Regions from separate parts of the Homo sapiens genome. Here region 1 is linked to region 2. Evidence: promoter capture Hi-C in 16 types of primary human blood cells and fetal thymus (Javierre and others, 2016). All regions are on one chromosome and are shown on one strand. Each heading gives the region's core, a stretch centred on a gene start or on the middle of the fragment in contact. The rest is flanking DNA. Distances are from core to core; before and after follow the strand shown.

Region 1 (6,674 bases), core at 1,921-4,420, 650 kb before region 2:
TCTACTAAAGATACAAAAAGTAGCCAGGCGTGGTGGCACGCACCTGTAATCCCAGCTACTCAGGAGGCTGAGGTAGGAGAATCGCTTGAACCCAGGAGGCGGAGATTACAATGAGCCGAGATCATGCCACTATACTGCAGCCTGGGCAACAGAGCGAGCTTCTGTCTCAAAAAAAAGAGTAATAATAAATTCAAAACTCATAAGCTTAAAAAATGTACAGCTTAAAAAATGTACAGTCTGGAATTAAACACTTGAGACTCTGGAGTTTGGTTTGCTTTTGAATTTAGACTATGCCATTTATAAGCTGTGTGACCTCGGGCAGATTACTGAATGTCTCAGTTCCTCATTTGTCAAATGGGGATTTAAAACAGCATCTATCCTATTGGGTGGGTTGTGAGAATTAAATGCACTAATACACATAAAGAACTTGAATATTGCCTGGCTGATAAGTGTTGAATATGTGTTAGATATTATGCTATTTTTAAAAAGTTTACATCAACTTTTGCCTAATTACACTTTTTATTACTTTTTAGTGGTTGGATTTCATCCCTTACTGGTCTCAACCAAAATATTCCTGTTGGAATCATGATGATAATCATAGCAGCACTTTTCACAGCATCAGCAGTCATCTCACTAGTTATGTTCAAAAAAGTAAGTGAAATTTTATGTCTAAATTTTTATAGTGAACGTGATGTAAAGTTCTCATTTTCCTATTTTGCTATAATTTGGTGTAACCTGAAGCCATTTTATCGTTATTGTATGAGTTTGCTCTCTGAGGATTACTTTTTACAATTAAAAGTTATGCATAAGTACATTTTAGAAAATTGCATCACATTTTAAACTTCAGTAAAAAGGGAATATTTTAAAATCATTTTAACTGAAGGCTTTCATGAGTTAAAGAGTCAGCCTCATTTTTAAAATTTGGATTTTTAAATATACTCTAAATTTCTTTTTTTTGATATGAAGGATATTAGCCTGTTAATAAATAGAAGTAAAATTATTATGTGATATGTACATTTTATTCATATATATCTCTTAGGTTTTTGTTTTGTTTTTTAATTTTTTATTATAAATTCAGAGGGAACATGTGCAGGTTTGTTACATGGTTATGTTGCATAATGCTGGGGTTTGGGCTTCTATTGAACCCATCACCCAAATAGTGAACATAGTACCCGATAGTTTTTCAAGCTTTGCTCTTCTCCCTCCCTCCCTTTTGGGTCCCCGGTGTCTGTTTCCATCTTTATGTCTGTGTGAACCCTTTGTTTAGCTCCCACTTCTAAGTGAGAACATGCAGTATTTGATTTTCTGTTAGTGTGTTAATTCACTTAGGATAATGGCGTGCAGCTGCATCTATGTTGCTACGAAGGACATAATTTCATTTTTTAGGTGGTGTAGTATTTCGTGATGTATATGTATCACATTTTCTTTATTCAGTCTACTATTGATGGACGCTTAGGTTGATTCTGTGACTTTGCTATTGTGACTAGTGCTGCAATAAGCATATGAGTGCAGGTGTCTTTTTGATAAAATGATTTCTTTTCCTTTGGTTAGATACCCAGTATAGGGTGATTGCTGGGTTGAATGGAAGGTCTATTTTTACTTCTTTGAGAAATCTCCATACTGTTTTCCACAGAAGTAGAACAAATTTATATTCCCGTCAACGGTATATAAGCATTCCATTTTCTCTGCATCCTTGCCAACATCTGTTGTTTTTTGAGTTTTTAATAATAGCCATTTTGACTGGTGTGAGATGGGAATTATTGTGGTTTTGATTTGCATTTCTCTGATTGGTGATGTTGAGTTTTCTTCCATTTGTTGGCTGCTTGTATGTCTTCATTCAAGAAGTGTCTGTTGATATCCTTTGCCTACTTTTTAATGGGGTTTTTTTTTTCTTGTTGATTTGTTTAAGTCCTTTATACATTCTGGATATTAGTCCTTTGTCAGATGCATAGTTTGCACATATTTTCTCCCATCCTGTAGATTGTCTCTTTACTCTGTTTATTCTCTCTTTCTTTCTTTTGGTTTCTTTTCTCCTTCCTTCCTTCCTTCCTTCCTTCCTTCCTTCCTTCCTTCCTTCCTTCCTTCCTTCCTTCCTCCCTTCCTTCCTTCCTTTCTTGTCTTTCCTCTATCTGTCTCTCTTTCTGTCTTCCTGTCTCTTTTGTGAAAGAGAGTCTCACTCTGTCACCCAGGCTGGAGTGCAGTGGCTCAATCTCAGCTCATTGCAATCTCCACCTCCCGTGTTCACACAATTTTCCTGTCTCAGCCTCTTGAGTAGCTAGGATTACAGGTGTGCACCAGCATGCCTGGCTAATTTTTATATGTTTAGTAGAGATGGAGTTTGACCATGTTGGCCAGCCTGGCCTTGAACTCCAGACCTCAAATGATCAGCCCTCACAAAGTACTGGGATTACAGGCATGAGCCACCACGCCCAGCCTGTTTAGTGTTTCTTTTGCTATGCAGAAGCTCTTTAAGTCCCATTTGTCAATTTTTGTTTGTGTTCCATTTGCTATTGAGGTCTTAGTAGTAAATTCTTTGTCTAGGCCAATGTCTAGAAGAGTATTTCCTAGATTTTCTTCTAGGATTTTTGTAGTTTGAGGTTTTACATTTAAGTCTTCAATCCATCTTGAGTTAATTTTTGTATGTGGTGAGAAGTAGGGGTCAATTTTATTCTTCTGCATGTGGCTAGCCAGTTTACCCAGCACCATTTATTGAATAGGGTGTCCTTTCCCCATTGTTCATTATTGTCAGCTTTGTTAAAGATCAGTTGGTTGTAGGTGTGTGGCATTATTTCTGGGTTCTCTGTTCGATTGGTCTGTTTTTGTACTGGTTACCATGCTGCTTGCTTACCATAGTCTTTTTTCTTTTTTGAGACAGAATCTTGCTCTGACGCCCAGGCTGGAGTGCAGTGGCACAATCTCGGCTCACTGCACCCTCAGCCTCCCCAGGTTCAAGTGATTCTCATGCCTCAGACAGCCAAGTAGTTGGGACTAACAAGCGTGAACCACCATGCCTGGCTGATTTTTGTATTTTTAGCAGAGACGGGATTTCACCATGTTGGCCAGGTTGGTCTCTAACTCCTGGCCTCAAGTGATCCGCCCGCCTCAGCCTCCCAAAGTGCTGGGATTACAGGTGTGAGCCACTGTGCACTATAGTTTGAAGTCAGGCAATATGATGCCTCTGGCTTTGTTCTTTTTGCTTAGGATTGCTTTAGCTATTCAGACTCTTTTTGGTTCCATATGAATTTTAGAATTGTATTTTCTACTTCTGTGAAAAATGATGTTGGTAATTTGATAGGATTGTATTGAATCTATATATTGCTTTGGACAGTATGGTCATTGTAACAATATTGATTCTTCTAATCCATGAATGTGGATGTTTTTCCATTTCTTTGTGTCATGTGTGATTTCTTTCATCAGTGATTTGCAATTCTTCTTATGGAGTTCTTTCACCTTCTTAGTTAAATGTATTCTGGATGTGTGTAGGAGTGTGTGTGTGTGTGTGTGTGTGTGTGTGTGTCTATTGTAAATGGGATTGGGTTCTTTATTTGGTTCTCAGCTTGAACGTTGTTGGTGTTTAGAAATGCTACTGATTTTTGTATGTTGATTTTGTATCTTGAAACTTTTTGTTGGTTTTTTGAGACAGAATCTCACTCTGTTGCCCAGGCTGGAGTGCAGTGGTGTGATCTTGGCTCACGGCAGCCTCTACCTCCTGGGTTCAAGCAATTCTCATGTTTTAGCCTCCTGAGTAGTCGGGATTACAGATGTGGCACCTGGCTAATTTTTTTTGTATTTTTAGTAGAGATGATTTCGCCATGTTGGCCAGTCTGGTCTGTAACTCCTGACCTCAAGTGATCTACTTGCCTTGGCCTCCCAAAGTTCGGGATTACAGGTGTGAGCCACCACACCCAGTCTGTATCTTGAAACTTTACTCAAGTTAGTTATCAGGTTTAGGAGTCATTTAGGATTTGTAACTGCCCAGTTGTTTTAGCTACACTTCTTCCTGTAGAATTCCCATGTCTGTTTTCACAGCTTTAAAAAAAAAATCATTACATAGAGGAAGGTAAATTAGTGTTTTTATTTGTTTATTTAAAGTTTTATTTTGTCTTGGATATATGTAATTTTGATATATTTTATATGTATTCAAACATGATATTGAGACCTTGGGAATAACACCTATGTTTTAAATGAAAAAGACTTTTTGATAGGTCTCACTTTAAAGAAAATAAGTCCTTATAATTTTTTTTACCATTTCATTACTTGAGACTATGTATGAGGAATGCATAGAAATAATTTTACCTTATATTTAAAACCACTTTTACTCTTTCAGTACTTTACTCAGACATTTGTCTTTTATCCTTCTCAAAACCCTACGAAGGTTAGACTGTGTCCGTTCTTCCATATTTTCTCTATTTGAAATTTTTAACTTCTCTTCTGCACCAAACACACATACCATTGACACTCAGCTCTCTAATGTTACTAAATCCCTTTTCCAGTTTTCCTCCTCCTTAACCTCTGTAGCTTTCTACACCACAGATGGCTCCTCTGCTAAGACTTTGCAATGATGTTCTAATTCTCTTGACTCTCTGGCTATTCTTTCTCCTCCATTTCTTCATCCAGTTCATAAATTAAGGTCTTAAATGTAATCGGCTCTTTGTGCTATGCAGTCATTTTCTTTGGGAATTTCATCTTCCCTTATTATTTCAGTTTCTTCTCTACCTAGATGACCTAGAATCTTGGAATTGGAAAAGATAATGCATTGCATAAACCTTTAGTTGCATCTTCAATTGGTCATTTTCATCTCCAGTTGTTGATTGATGTCATCTTCTCACAGTAATGCCTCATAAACTCTTCAGTTTCTTAGTGATAGATGTTCCTTTTGAACGTTCTGAGTAATATTCAAGAAGCATTTATTAAGACCACATATTGTATAGATTCCATTATTGTGAAATGTATAAAATGGGCAAATATATAGAGACAGAAAATGTATTACAGCTTGCCTGTGGCTTATGGGTGGGGTGGGGAGTGAGGGTAATGAAAGTATTCTAAAATTAGGTTGTGTAGATATTATAGTCACAACTCTATGAATATACTAAAAATCATTGAATTGTACACTTTAAAGGGTAAAATGCATAGTATACAGATTTTATCTTAATGAAGCTTTTTTTTTTGAAGAAACACTTATTGAATACCTACTAATGAGATGGCACTAAGCACTTTATGTAATTCCATTGAACATTTTTGTCAGTGCTGTGATTGCTTCTGTCAGTGCTTCCATTACTTCTTTTTTGAGACAGAATCTGTCTGTCGCCAGGCTGGAGTGCAGTGGCGCGATCTTGGCTCACTGCAGCCTCCGCCTCCCGGGTTCAAGCGATTCTCCTGACTCAGCCTCCCAAGTAGCTGGGACTACAGGCATGCGCCACCACACTCAGCTATTTTTTTTTTTCTTTTTTTGAGATAGAGTCTTGCTCTGTCACCAGGCTGGAGTGTGATGGCGTGATCTCTGCTCACTGCAGCCTCCAACTCCCTGGTTCAAGCAGTTCTCCTGCCTCAGCCTCCTGAGTAGCTGGGATTACAGGCATGTGCCACCATGCCTGGCTAATTTTTGTATTTTTAGTAGAGACAGGGTTTCACCATGTTGGCCAGGATGCTCTTGATCTCCTGACCTCGTGTTCTGCCTACTGGGATTACAGGCATGAGCCACCACGCACAGCCACTTCCATTACTTTTTAATTCACTTTCTTAGATACCTTTTTAGTATCTTTTCCATTTCCAACCTCAGCTAATCCAGAAATTCTTTTTACAGGTTACTTATATTCCCTCATCCTTCTCGCAGTCCATTTAATATATAATTCCTATATTAACCTTAAAAAAACCCCAACAAATTGGCACTCTGCAGATTTTTGACGTGGATCTGGGATTGGGAACGGCATTTTGGTGGCAGTGCGAAGAAGGGCTACATTCAGAAACACCAGCATTGCTAAGGTTGTAAAAACACACTACATGCCATAAAGCCATCAAATGGGCCTTAATAACCTAATGATGAAATCACTTTTATTTTGCTCAGCCATACTCTGGGCCCTATGCAGAACACTTCACCAGTATTATGCCATTTTGTCCTCTCGGAGAATCACAGATTGGGATTATAGTGGTGGTGGGAAGAAGGGCTAATGGTGACGTCTCACAGCTCCATGATTCACACTTTCTATTCTTGTCAGACTGTACTGCTCGGTTTCTTCAAATACATCATGTACATTCCTTTGTTCCAGATTTTGTTTATATGATGTTTTTTAATCCGTGCATTAATTCGTCTTCTCTGCTATTTGAAGACCTACTAGTATTCTTTCAAGACCCAGCTCCGATCTTGCTGTGTCTCCCAGAATGTTTTTTGTTGCCTTGTATCTTAGGGACCATGTCATTCTCTGTTTTCTTGGGGAAACTTAACTGTCTATATTGCTTACTGTGGCACCTGGGCATAAGCCAGTTTTTATGCCTTATGGTGCATGTATTCTGGGTACGCAGCTGTTAAGCACCCCCCGCGTGAACAAGTCTTTTAGCATTGGAATTAGATGAGAAGAGCAAGAGTTTTGCTTTGGAACCATACAACTCAGGTTGAAATTTTGACAGCTTCACTTACAGCTCTGTGACCTGAGACAGACTTCTGTAACCACTCAGGT
Region 2 (7,406 bases), core at 1,498-3,997:
GGGTCAGGAGTTCAAGACCAGCCTCTCCAACATGGTGAAACCCCGTCTCTACCAAAAAATACAAGTTAGCCGGGTGTGGTGGCGCCAGCCTGTAATCCCAGCTACTCGGGATGCTGAGGCAGGAGAATCACTTGAACCCAGAAGGCAGAGGTTGCAGTGAGCTGAGATTGCACCACTGCACTCCAGCCTGGGCGACAGAGTGAGACTCTATCTCAAAAAAACAAACAAACAAGCAAAAAACCTCACTTCCTAAGTGGTATCCAAGCAGACTTAGTTCTCTGGGAATGGGGCAAAGAAACTTCAGGGAGCATGCTGATGATCCATCTAACTCCCTAACTTCGTGGTTCTTGAGAACAAAGAGGGGACACCCACCTCACAGAGTTGTGTGGGGTAAATAATGTTGTGTAAGTAAAAGGCTTAGTGCCTTTTACATACATGGTGGATATTATCATCTATTATGGAAATAAGTGAATAATTTTTTAAATGGACCTAATTGGGGGTGGGGGCATGGGATAGTTAGGACAACAAATTGAGAGGCCCAGAAAAAACAAAAATATTTTGACAGCACCTATAAATCATTCTGGAAAAGCTGGGAGTCGATAATTTTTTTAAAAAACGAAAATTCCCTACGTTCGAGTACAAATCCTTTTATATACATCTATACACTTAGGTATGCATAAAATTCCTCTGGAAGAACGGTTAACAGGCAATAGTGGTTACCTCCAGGGAGGGGACTTGATCTGCAACAGCAGCTGGGGAAAGGCTTCTAAATTTTTTTTGCCATGTTTGTTCTTGGAGAAATAAAGATTAAAAAAGTAAAATTTTTGCCATGTGTCTATATTACCTATTAAAAATTCATAATTCACTTCTAAATTTAATGCTACTAGTTTAAAATTTCTCCCAAGTTTTGCCACATTTTGAGGAAACTGAAATTGGGAACGTCGGCTTTCAGCCTTTATTGAGTGTTAGAGTGCTTATACCGCCTCCTAGTGCCAGATACCCACGACTGCGGCTGCTCCCTGCAGCCACCGCGGGGCTCACTCTAGACCTGTTCATCTCACCAGTGCTCACCAGGTGAATACCTTAACTAGTTAACGCATTAACTAACTAAACTGTTACCTATTCGGATACTCCAATGCCTTCAAGGTGTTTTTTTTTTTTAATCTAGGTACTGTGAAGAATGACTTTACCTCATGCCTCATTCTTGCTGACCCCAGATCACAGTTGGGGGTGGAGGAGCCAATGAAATAATAGATCACTTGAATAACAGTATATCCTTTCACCTTTTCATTTCTTTTTCCATTTTAAACTTGACATACTTAGAAGCAAAAGGACATTTTTACTTTCTCAGTTGTATTTCAAACACATGTCACTTTAGCCGTTAAATTTGTATTAATTCATCAGGTGTTGCAGTAACTTTCTTCTCTGCATGTGTTGAAATGGAGGTTGTTTGTCCACATACAGAATTTTTTTACATGCTTTTATTTGGGTAAAATTTTCTGAACTGTGTTTCAGATATTTCATTGTTCTGTAGGCTATTTACTGTCATGCTGTACATTTTTTTTTCTTTTGAGACAGAGTTTCACTCTTTTTGCCCAGGCTGGAGTGCAATGGCACAATCTCGGCTCACTGCAACCTCTGCCCCCAGGGTTCAAGCGATTCTCCTGCCTCAGCCTCCCGAGTAGCTGGGATTACAGGCGCCTGCCACCATGCCCGGCTAATTTTTGTATTTTTAGCAGAGACGGGGGTTTCACCATGTTGGCCAGGCTGGTCTCGAACTCCTGACTTCAGGTGATCCACCCGCCTCACCCTCCCAAAGTGCTAGGATTACTGGCATGAGCCACCGTGCAGGCCATGCTGTACATTTTTTAAAGTAATGTTTTTATTATTTTAAAATCAATGTATTCTCATTATAAAAATATTTTGGAAAATACAGTGAAACATGAAGAATAAAATAAAACAAGCCTTAATTCCGCCATCAATAGGTAACTACTGTTAACATCTCTATTCCCTCCAGTTCTTCTAATGTCTATGTTTTTATATCGTTTTCATGCTGAATTTTGAAGTCTTCAAAGTACATTTCTGCTTCCATTTATAAATGTTAAAAGTCTGTCCTTGTTAAATATTACAAACATATTCTTATTAGAAACTACTGTGTTATTAGAAACTGCAAGGCATGTTTGGGTATAGGGGTAGAAGGTCATTTTGAACATACCCGCCAATTCAGGGTTAGTATTGGACTCCTCTACTAAAGCCGCATTTGTGTCCCGTTATACTGGATGTATATCACACAGGAGATCACACTCCAGGCTGAAGATCTTCCAGGACTTCATCCCCTGATTCCATAATCTTGACGCCTTGGCCTTTGACAAATATCTGAGCATCGAATGGACTTCTCAGAGGCCTCTCTGGCAGCCTAAGTGGGCCATGGTGCATGATCCCAGGTGAGCGAGAGGACGGTCAGGGTCGGGGCAAAAGTGCAAGAGGCAAAAGGGACGCTAGGCAGGTTTGAAATCTGAGCGAGTGGCAACCTCGCTTTTTCTTATCTTACTTTTCGGTGGTTCCACCCATTTGGGTGAACAATCTGGATTACCTCCTTGGCAGGCCAGGTTCCCAACAGGAGGCGGGCCTGATGAAGGGCTGGTGGGCGTGTTCCCGCCCAAGGTCCGTGTTGGCCCGCGCGGTGGCTGGGAGGCCCTCCCCACGCCCAACTGCGGGTATAAAGAGGCAGGCTGCGGACTCGGAGCAGCTCGGGGCTGCGCAGCGGGAAGGCTCGCCTAGTCGGTCCGCATCCGTGTCGACCACCTGTCTGGACACCACGAAGATGCCACCCGTTGGGGGCAAAAAGGCCAAGAAGGTGAGTCTCCAGGGGACCCGAGGGCGCTCTCCTTCCCCTCCCACCTGCTCTGTATCCCAGCCTCTGGGAGCGCAGAGGGGCCCTCGGACCCTGCCTGGTACCCATCATCCTCCTACTCCCTCCCCTCCCTCAGCCTCAGACCAGAATGTGCTTCCAGAACTTCTCCAGCAGGACCCCAAGGCGCCTCTGAGCCTCCCCACTCCTGCCCCACGTTCAGAGCGCGCCCCCAGAGCGCCTCTGTCCCCTCCAGCCCCAGCCCAGCTTGGACCAGAGTGCGCCCCAGATCTATGTGATCCTTGCCTCTCAGACCCAAAGGCACCCTCTGAGCCCTCCCTGACGGCTGGGTGTCCCCAGAACTCCGAGCCTTCCAATATCTTCTGAATCTGGCACCCCAAGACCAGAAAACTCCCTAGAGATACTGCTCCTAGCCCCGCAGGCGCGATATCCCGTCCCCACGGAGCCCCTCCGCATCTGTGTCCGAGGCCGCCGCGAGCGCCCTCTGCACCCGGCGCGCCCAGAACAGGGAGGAGTGCACGGCGCTGGCTCCGACATTTCCCGCCTGGATCTGCACCGCGGGTGTCGGGGCCGCCTCCCCGCCGGGTTCTCGCTGCACCCAAGGCCCAGGCGCTGGTTGGGTGATTGCAGATTTTCACAGGCAATTTGATGTCCGTGATGACAGAAAAATGTCATCCGAAATGTCAGCCTCGAAAACATGGTTTAAGAAAAAATGGGCAGAGTGGCTGTAAGATACTGAGGAAGGGCTGTTGATGAAATTGTAAAACCCAATTCCAGCTCCAGATGAACAAGTCCATCTCTTGGCTATCCCAGTGGCTTGTTGGGAGGGGTATTTTCAGTCCAGACGGTAGGCCTTCCTCTAATTTGGGGAACGGATGGATAGATGGACTGACTGCCGTGGAATGAGACTGGACAGGTGGGAAGAGAGAGAGAAGGATGGAGGGAGGAGAGAATAAACTTGACCTTTTGGTCAAATGCCCAGTCCCAGGCCTGGCACGACAGAGGCCCCCGGAAAATGGTAGGGAGGCAGATGGGGCCAGGCCAACTGTATCCTCTGGGCTGTAAGGACAGTGAGAAAGGTCCAGCTCTCATCCCAGTGCCTGCCCTGCTGGAGAACCAGCTGAGGTGTGCCCAGTTTCTAAAGGGATGGCCTCCCAAATCAAAAAGACCTCTACACAAGGAAGAAGGTCAATTCGGTTACAGATTCTAAATGCAGCATCGTGGATGCATGTTGATGGCATGAGTGGGTGTTGAGATGGCAAAGGACTATGGACTATCACCAGTCAAAGGAGGGTGAGAATTTCGCCAGTCCCTAAATGTACTAAATGAATAGTCCACAGAGACTGGGAAGGATGATTCCTATAGATATAGATATTTTTTGTTTGTCCCCATTCTCATAGCCACGTAAGTCTAACTTATTCCCCAAACTCAAACTCAGAAAATCTAACATTTTAAAGAATTATCTTTGTAGAATTATCTAAGCAACAGATGAATGTAAGATGGAAAAAACAGTTTCCTAGTAACTTGTTTCCGTGCATATGTCAGTGTTAAAACAATATATGGACAATAACATGTCTACACATTTGAGTTTAAAATTAAAATAAATGTTACAAAGTTTGCACATGTTCATTATAAACAATGAGGGAAAGCACAAAGAACAGTGCCTGTTAAATTCTGGTGTATATTCTGCTAGTTTGTTGTTGAGGCAAATATGCACTTCTTAGACAAAAATGGGCTGATATTACATATACTGTTTTGTAATACTTTTTCACAAAATGGTATATTTTTTTCATAGCACATTCCACCTTTTAAAAAGTCTGTTTAGCTTGGGAACAGAAAATCCTGAAGTCTAGATAATTTTAAAATGCAATAGAATGTAAGAGATCATATTTCCAGAGGTAACCACTCAACAAGTGCATGAGCCACATAGTAATTGAATCGCCACTACCCACCCTGCCACCCAGCATCAGATCCTTAGCTATGCTGCACATTAAAATGCTGTGGTACTAAAATTTGAAAACACACACGTTCAATGGGAGCTGCTAACTGCCCAAATGTCATGAATTATTTTATCCAAATAAAAGTTAGTAGCAAGTCATATCTCATTTAAGTGACCCTTGTTATGTTTTTTATGTAACTGTGCTGGCAGTAGTATATATATATATATATTTATATATATGTATACATATATATATTATTGTTGTTGTTAATTAGGTCATAATCAAAGTTGCAGTTTTCAGATGTGACATTTAGATACATTGCAATCATGACAAATATTTGGATTTCAAAATGACGTGTGAGCCATTTATATTTTTGTTGTGCTTTGTTATCTTATGGGCTCCCATAAGATAACAAGGCTTCAACACTATGGCTTGAAAATGTTTTGATCTGAAAGGTATATTAGGGAACACACAGCATAATCCTACCACTTTGCTTCTGTCTGGTGAAATGTCAATTGTTTCCTCTCTCTGAGCACCAGCTGTCCAAATGGCATGGGAAGGGGCAGTGGAGGGGAAGAGAATGAAAATGAGGGAGGTTCTAAGAAGGTGGCAAGGAATTGGGATGCAAAATCCTGTGACTGCCTCTCACAGATTTCTGGAATCTTGTTATTATGTCAGCTTTTGTTTTATCCACTGTTATTGGTAGTAAGTGGAACACACTGGGTAAATACGTCCCAAGTTATTCCTTTACACTATACAGTTTTTTTCAGGGCTGTCCCACCACCCCCAATCCCATTTGAAATCAAATATAGATGTTATTTAAGCATAAAAGAGTCAGGAAGCCCTATGCTCCCCATCTGGAAAACCATGTATAAATTACTCAGGGACTCTGGGTCTTAATTTCTCATTTGTGAAATGAGAGAGAGATCTCAATTGAATTGAGTACTATTTATTTTTAAAGTCTATGATTCTTTGAAATTACAAAAAATCTATTAAACTAGAGAATTACTTTGTAATTCACAAAACCCTTTCAAAATACTTAATTCCAAAGTTATCCATAGAACAACACCAGGGTGATTACTGCACAGTATTGTAAATGGAATAAGTATGGAGATTGGGCTGAAAAATCATTCAACAAATACTTTAGTTGTCTCTTCCTTGTTCTCATCATAGAGTACAGCATGTGCACACTCATAACCTGGACTGTATAGCATAGCTACTGTTGTGGAAACTGAATTTTAACACCAAAGATAGAAGTCTTTGAGTGATTTGGCCACCTTTTCAGTCTTAAAATAAAATGGCTTAATAGCATTGCTGGGCACTGTGGCACGAGCCTGTAGTTTTGGCTGCTGGGGAGGGTGAGACTGGAGGATCTTCTGAGCCCAGGAGTTCAAGTTCCTCTGGGCACATAGTGAGATGCTGTCTCTAAGAAAAAAAAAAAAAAATAGCATTCTATGCCATTTCAACTTCTTTAACAATTTTTTAACCCTCTCTTTAGTTTGTTGATAGAGTAAGAAGACTAGTATTTACCATTTTAAGAATCTGTGCTTAAGTGCAGATTTGAGGCTTTACAACAAAATCTTTTCATTTAATCCCTCAGCAGACAGTTCTTCAAACACACCTCCCACGGTGTTCTTCAAATACTCTTTAACGTGTTAAGAAAGACCCCCCCACCCACAGCACATACAAAGGAATACACAAATGTTTATTTTATGAGCATTCTGGTTGTTTGTCTTATAGATAGCCATAAATGTATATATAAAATATACATTTTTCTCTGAAAATTCTAAAATAACCACACATCTCCAAGAATATGTTAGCAAAAGTAATAAAAATAGAAAATTATCTTAAACACTCAAGTAACTCCTTTTCCTCCCTCATCTGTAATTTTAGGGCATCCTAGAACGTTTAAATGCTGGAGAGATTGTGATTGGAGATGGAGGGTTTGTCTTTGCACTGGAGAAGAGGGGCTACGTAAAGGCAGGACCCTGGACTCCTGAAGCTGCTGTGGAGCACCCAGAAGCAGGTTGGTGCAGAGCTCTATTGTAAGTTCTCATAAAGGAGCCGGGTGTGGAGGCTCATGCCTGTAATCCCAGCAACTCAGGAGGCTGAGGTGGGAAGACCACTTGAGCCCAGGAGTTCAAGACCAGCCTGGGCACATAGGGAGACCTAGTCTCTCAGAAGTTTTTTAAAAATTAGCTGGACATGGTGGTGCACTCCTGTAGTCCCAGCTACTTGGGAGGCTGAGGCAGGAGGATCGCTTGAGCTATTTTATGCAAATGATTTTGTGTATCTGCAGCGCTTTTGTAATTTAGACTGAGTGGTAGCTAGAATTGATGGAAACCCCTGAAGAGTCTTCCTGCAAGCTGGACTTCACCTGCAACATTTTTATATATCTCATGCCTGGGCCTGACTTTTTCATGTTCTGGGCAAAAAGAAAGGAGTGGTTATGCTACAGGCCCACAATCCCCTGTCCAAACCACATTTTGGGGTCAAACATATCTTGGAATCCAGGAATCTGGGGATGTTAGAAAGTTAATACAGTACAAATGTAGCATATTATGTAACACTCCCAATGGGCCCTGAAGCAGCTC

The links. Contacts are between HindIII fragments. The CHiCAGO score rates a contact against its expected background, and 5 or more counts as called.
Region 1: a contact is called between a fragment that was not itself captured here and the fragment with the promoter of BHMT in region 2, in 1 of 17 cell types (naive B cells). The highest score is 5.2, in naive B cells.

What each region holds. Positions count from the first base shown.
Region 1 is chr5:78,458,712-78,465,385 of GRCh38, forward strand. It overlaps SCAMP1 (secretory carrier membrane protein 1), which reads left to right. Exons shown (of 9, transcript NM_004866.6): 8 at 534-651. Among named protein-coding and RNA genes, the nearest start is that of SCAMP1, 100 kb to the left of the region's middle. The HindIII fragment of the contact is 3,969 bases long and covers 1,187-5,155 here.
Region 2 is chr5:79,109,062-79,116,467 of GRCh38, forward strand. BHMT (betaine--homocysteine S-methyltransferase) reads left to right here and starts at 2,748. Exons shown (of 8, transcript NM_001713.3): 1 at 2,748-2,857; 2 at 6,706-6,838. The coding sequence starts at 2,825. It overlaps LOC124901012 (a long non-coding RNA gene), which reads right to left. Exons shown (of 2, transcript XR_007058837.1): 2 at 5,746-6,237. RefSeq lists an enhancer at 3,074-3,918. The HindIII fragment of the contact is 17,379 bases long and covers 1-7,406 here.